Linked DNA regions of Homo sapiens: region 2 is linked to region 1. Evidence: promoter capture Hi-C in 16 types of primary human blood cells and fetal thymus (Javierre and others, 2016). All regions are on one chromosome and are shown on one strand. Each heading gives the region's core, a stretch centred on a gene start or on the middle of the fragment in contact. The rest is flanking DNA. Distances are from core to core; before and after follow the strand shown.

Region 1 (2,761 bases), core at 113-2,612:
CCTGATCCATGGGACCCCACTCAGCCAGCTCCAGGTGCCTGGCCAGGGCATGTACCTAACCCAGGCTCCCCGCCAAGGCCAGGTGCCCAGGGGAATTCTGCCAGCCATGGTGATGATGGCCACCCCAGCTGACTGCAGCCTGGGTTTCCTGCAGTGCATGTTGAAAGATAAACAGGCACGGACTGGTGCAGCCCAAGGGGTCCCGCCCGGGCCCTGGCTGGGCAAGAGGATGTCTGCCTTAGGCCCCCACCTGCTCTGAGCCCTGGCCTGGACAATCCCAAGGGCCTTCAGAAACCTAAGCTGGTCCAGGCCTGTGGCCTGGGAGGTGTCCCTTCCCTTCCCAGGCTGGAGCCAAGCTGGCCAGCTGGGGGTATGGCAGGACACCCATATCCCCAAGCCCCTCGCTCCACGAAGGACTTCTGTCCCTGACAGCCATGTGTCCTGCACCCTCAGGTCCACTGGCTGCCCAGGCAGTGCTGGGAAAGCCGGGGTTCACAGCTCCAAACAGTAGACCCAGCCCCCAGAGCAGGTGGGGGGACCAGGAGGCAACAGAGTGGATCAGGCTCGGGGAGAACTGACCCCAAAGGACAAATGGGTGCAGAGATTCAGGCTGGCCAAGGCTGGCACAAGGACATTCCCAGTGGCGAGAGCATGAGCAAGGGTCACGGATGTGCCAGGAGGGGAGGCGGAGAGATGCCTGGGACCAACCTCTATGGCAGGCCGCGGCCCAAGGGCAGGGGAGGGGTGGACGGAGGGAAGGGACAGGGTCTCCTCCGGGACCCCAGGGAGGCTGGGCCCAAGGACCATGGAGCCTCGCAGCTGAATGGAGCCCCCCAGGCCTGCCTTCTGTCCTGGGAACCAGGGCCTCCCTCGAGCCAGAGTCCTGAGCGCCGCTTGCCCCCCGCCCACAGCGGCCCCAGCGAGCGCGCTGCAGAGGGCGCGGGTGCCGTGACTCAGCCGAGCACCGCGATGTCAGCGGACGCGGGACCGGACTGGACACGACCGAGCCACCTCCCCGGAGGCCGCAGCGCCGGCAGGCGAGGGCAGGGCCCGGCGGGGAGGGGGCTCGGGCCCGCGCCGCCCCCAGCGCCCGCCGGGGTCTGCGCGCGCCCGGCCGTCCGCACGTGCGCGCGGGGAGCGCGCCTCTGGCCGCGGTGCGCGCGGCCTCGGGCTGAGGGCGGGCGCGTGGGGTGGGCTCACCGGGCTCCGGCGTTTGAGCGTCACGTTCTTCCAGAGCAGCAGCTGCAGCTGGTGCAGGAAGCCCATGGCGGGGCCACGCTCCGCCGCCTCAGCGCCGCGGCCCGCTCCTCTGCGCGCCCCGCCGGGCCCCGCAGCCCGCCGCGCCGCTGGGCATCGCCCGCGCGGGGGCGGGGCGCTCGGGCGTCCGGGACCCGATCCGCGCTGGCTCCGCCCCGGCGGCCGCGGCGACAGCGACTCTGCCCGCGCCCCGCCCGCCCCCGCTTAAAGGCGCCGCGCTCCGTCCGCGCCCGCCAGGAGGCGCCCGCCGCCCGCGCCGCGCCCGGGACCGACCCGGGCCCGAGACCCTGCGCGCGCCGCCGCCGGGAAGCCTCCGGGCCGCCCCTCGCCGGGCGTCACGCGACGCGCCCACATCGAATCCGAGACCCCGGCTTAGCCTTCGTAGGCCGGGGGACCCTCGGGCGCTGCGCTCTTCTCCCAGAGGCATCCGGCTGCGCCCACCGCGCTGGCGACTCTGCAGAGGCGCCCCAAGCCTTCACTGTCCCCGGGGCGCGCCGAGCGGACGCTGGCGAGGGGCCAGCTCACCCCCGTAAGGGTCTCCTGTGTGCTTTGTAAACCAGCACTTGGAGTCCAGGTGGTGCCCACCTGGAAGGGAGGCAGGGCGGCCAGGTGGGTCCGTCCCGCGATTCCGAGCAGCCAGCGGAAGGGGGGAAACTCGAGGCCCCAGGAACGCTCGCCGTGAGCGGAGCAGGCAGGGGACCGAGGCGGCCCCTGCTGCACGCGGCTCGTTTTTCTCCCCATATTCGGGCGAGTCTGGTCTCTGCACAGGGAGTTCGGGATCAGGCGGTTCTGCGGCTGTGGCTTGGCACCTGCTGGGGCGCCCCGGGAGGTGGGGCAGTTCCTCCGCGTGGCCTGTAGAGAGCGACAGAGGACAGGCTGACCCCATGGGTGGCTCTGACGGCGCTTCCCAGACTCAGTTTCCCCCCTGTGAATGGGGTGGAGTAGCGCTGTGTGGTGTCCAGTGTCAGGGCGCACATAGAAGGCGCATCCTCAAGTGAATGAAGACCTCCGAGGCCACAGCTCCCCACTCCTCCCAGCTCCTTTGCAGCAGGAAGGTGACCCTGGGCTAGTGAGTGAGGGATCAGCTTCCCACCCCAGCCCGCAGCCTCAAGGCACTTGCTTTTCTCTGCTCAGTCCACAGGGCTGGGTCAGGGCAGGAAGCTACCAGCAGGTCTTTCCCACAAGCCACAGCCATGGGTGAGGGGGGCTTCCTGCCCTCAACCTGCCCACCCCTACCTGGGGTAGGGACAAGCCCTGTGCCCCAGCCCCGGGGGCTTAGCCTGTTGGGGCCCTGGTCAGCACCACCCGTGGGTTGGCCTCTCTCCTCCTCGCCCCACTCTCCACCGTCCACTACAGGGGCTCCCTGGCTGCAGCCGCATCCCCAGTGCCTCCCCAGCACTGGCCACCAGAGGGAGCTACAAGGCACAGGTCAGACCCTGTCACCCCAGACACCCTCCAGCCTGCGGGCCTGGGAGATGGGCGATTTCAGCCTGGCCAGGCCTCT
Region 2 (2,761 bases), core at 173-2,672, 540 kb before region 1:
ACACCAGGCCTCCCCGGAGGCACAGGGCACATTGACGGCATTGCCAGCAGCCTCGTTACTGCAGGAGCGTCATGCTCCTCATCTCCAGCATCTTCAAGCATGTTGGGCACATAGCAGGTCTCAGAGAACATTTTTCTGGAATCATTGAGCCAAGTACTTACCATGTAAGGTGCTAAAAAGCACTAGGAATGAAGCAGAAAGCTCAAGGCTGATGTCGATGTCACAGTAACCTGGGACCGCAGGCCCCCAGGGCCACAGGAGGAACTGCTGGCTGTCCTTGAGCTGAGGCAGGGTCTTGGTAAGCTCACGAGTCCTCTATCCCCAAACCATGCACAGATGTCTGCTGAGTCCCTGCTGTACCCCAGGCACTGCTAGGAGCTGGGCTGTGGCCGTGAGACAGACAAGCCCAGACTCTGCCTCCGGGGAACATGGATGCTGGCTGGCCACAGAGGTGCCCATACAGAGGGCACCATGCAGTGTCTGCTGGGGACAGGCAGGAGGAGAAGGAGCATTTCTGGCTGAAGTGAACAGTCCACATGAGGCTTCTGCGGGGTGAGCGGCCAGTGGGCGTAGGCTAGTGTGGACTCTGTAGGCTTGCTAAGAGACCCGCAGGTGGTGTCTGGAAGTATAGGAAGCTTCCAGAGGCTTTTCAGCCAGGAGCGATGCAACCAGTTTGGGCCCCAAAGGCTCTCCAGGTTAGGGTTCGAGCTAGGGGCTAGGGAGAGCCAGGGCCCAGGAGGCAGCCTTGGGTGGCCTAGGAGAAAGAGGCGCTGAACCCAGGAGAGTCCCCAAGAACCCGGGAGAGTCCCCGAGGGCACAACCCCAGCACAGCACGGGGTTCACACACAGCAGGCAGGAGACAGTCCTGAGCATTGAGTGATGATTTAAGTGGTGGACATGGACTTGGTGGCCTGGGGACTGTAGATAGGGAAGAGAAAAGGGCCCGGGTGGAGCTGGGAAGAGCTCCAGTATTCGATGCCAGGCCAGTCGTGGCATTAACTCCTGGCAAAGTATCCGATGCCAGGCTGGCCATGGTATTGACTCCTGGCAAAGTGGCCCAACAACCCCCTTCTCCCCTCTGAGCAGCCGTCTCCCTGTCTGAAAAGTCACCAGGCTGGATGGCATCAACTCTACAGGCCTTCCTGCTCCTCTGAGGGCAGGTGACTCCTCGTGGTTTGACACGGACCGGGAATCACATAGCCCTGGCTCAGTGAATGGGCGAACTTGGCTAAGTCGCCTAACCTCTTTGAGCCCCAGCTTCCTCATGTGTAAAACAGGATAATAGCAGTGTCGCGGGGGATGGCCCTGGGCGTGGGGTGAGGGCCATTTCTGCCCTGTGGTCACTCGGGAGGACCTGTGGGGCGCTGGCAGAGCAGTGCCACCAGGGGGAGGCAGAGAGCCGCCTCTGAGTCGGCCAAAGTAACAGGTGCACGCTTGCCAGGTGAGGTTGCTCCCATCTGTCGTCTCAGCATTTTGGGAGGCCAAAGTGGGAGGATCACTTGAACCTAGGGGTTTGAGACCAGCCTGGGCAACATAGCAAGATTCCATCTCCACAAAAAGAAAAAAAAGTAAAGTTATACACTTTTCTTTTTTTTTTTTGAGACCGAGTCTCACTGTATCCCCCAGGCTGGAGTGCAGTGGTGCAATCTCAGCTCACTGCAACCTCCTCCTTCCGAATTCAAGCAATTCTCCTGCCTCAGCCCCCCCAAGTAGCTGAGATTCTAGGTGCCCACCATGGTGCCCAGCTAATTTTTGTATTTTTAGTGGAGAGGGGGGTTTCACCAGTTGACCAGGCTGGTGTGGAACTCCTGACCACAGGTGATCCTCTCGCCTCGGCCTCCCGAAGTGCTGGGATGACAGGTGTGAGCCACCACGCCTGGCCGTAGTTATAACTTTTCTAAGGTTCATTTTATTAAATGGAAAAATGCCAAACAGAACGACAAAGGCTGTGGTAGAATGTGCACGTTTGTGTGGACCCAGGGCACATTTTCACCAGAAAATCCCGTGCGATAGAGTGGAAGATATACCAAAAGCCACAGCAAATATCACGCGTGACTCCGCAGAAAATTATAGATTCCTAACAAACACTGAGAGTGTGTCCTGTGCTGTAAGGTCCAGGGATGGGCCACAAGTTCAAGGTTGTGTGAAGAACAACGGAAACCCACCTCTGAGGCCCTGGGCACCTGGCACCTGTCGTGTTGGGCATGAATAAAGCTTCGCAGCTCAGTCCTGCAATCTCCATGAGCCTAGACTTGTCCATCTTAAAATGTAGACGGTTAGGACACCTGCTGAAGGGGCCGCCAGGCTTAACTGTGCCAACACGGCATGCAGGTGGAGAACAAAGAATGCGATTGAAAACCTCCTAACGATAACAAGAGCTGTTCCCTTTCTGAGCCCTCACCCCATGCCCAGCGTGCACCAGCAGCTCACCATCGCAGGCCCAGGGCCAGCACCCAGGTCCCCACTTGACCCACGAGGACACTGAGGTACAGCAACAGCCAGGACAGCAGCCGCCAGGTGGAAAGCAAAGACACAAAGCAGCCAGATCGGGAGTCACGTCGGGGCAGGCGACTGAGGCGCCACCCAGCCACCTTCAAGATGCAGATTGAAGAACAGCCTTTCCCAAAGCTCGCTCACTCACTGACCCTGCGTCTTCGTCTGCAAAGCCTGAGTAACGTGGGAGGCCCTGCAACGCCCCCTCTGAGAGACCTCCACTAACGCCAGCACTTTTTTTTTTTTTTTTTTTTTTTTTTTTTTTTTT

The links. Contacts are between HindIII fragments. The CHiCAGO score rates a contact against its expected background, and 5 or more counts as called.
Region 2: a fragment that was not itself captured here is called in contact with the fragment with the promoter of ABCA2 in region 1 in 1 of 17 cell types (total CD8 T cells); the score reaches 5.1 in total CD8 T cells.

Annotation. Positions count from the first base shown.
Region 1 is chr9:137,026,875-137,029,635 of GRCh38, forward strand. ABCA2 (ATP binding cassette subfamily A member 2) reads right to left here and starts at 1,363. Exons shown (of 49, transcript NM_001606.5): 1 at 1,201-1,363. The coding sequence starts at 1,266. It overlaps LINC02908 (long intergenic non-protein coding RNA 2908), which reads left to right and starts at 590. Exons shown (of 3, transcript NR_171031.1): 1 at 590-1,037. RefSeq lists a silencer at 1,441-1,620 and an enhancer at 1,504-2,248. The HindIII fragment of the contact is 3,387 bases long and covers 1-2,761 here.
Region 2 is chr9:136,487,428-136,490,188 of GRCh38, forward strand. No RefSeq gene overlaps it. Among named protein-coding and RNA genes, the nearest start is that of C9orf163, 5.3 kb to the left of the region's middle. RefSeq lists a silencer at 1,434-1,483. The HindIII fragment of the contact is 1,579 bases long and covers 634-2,212 here.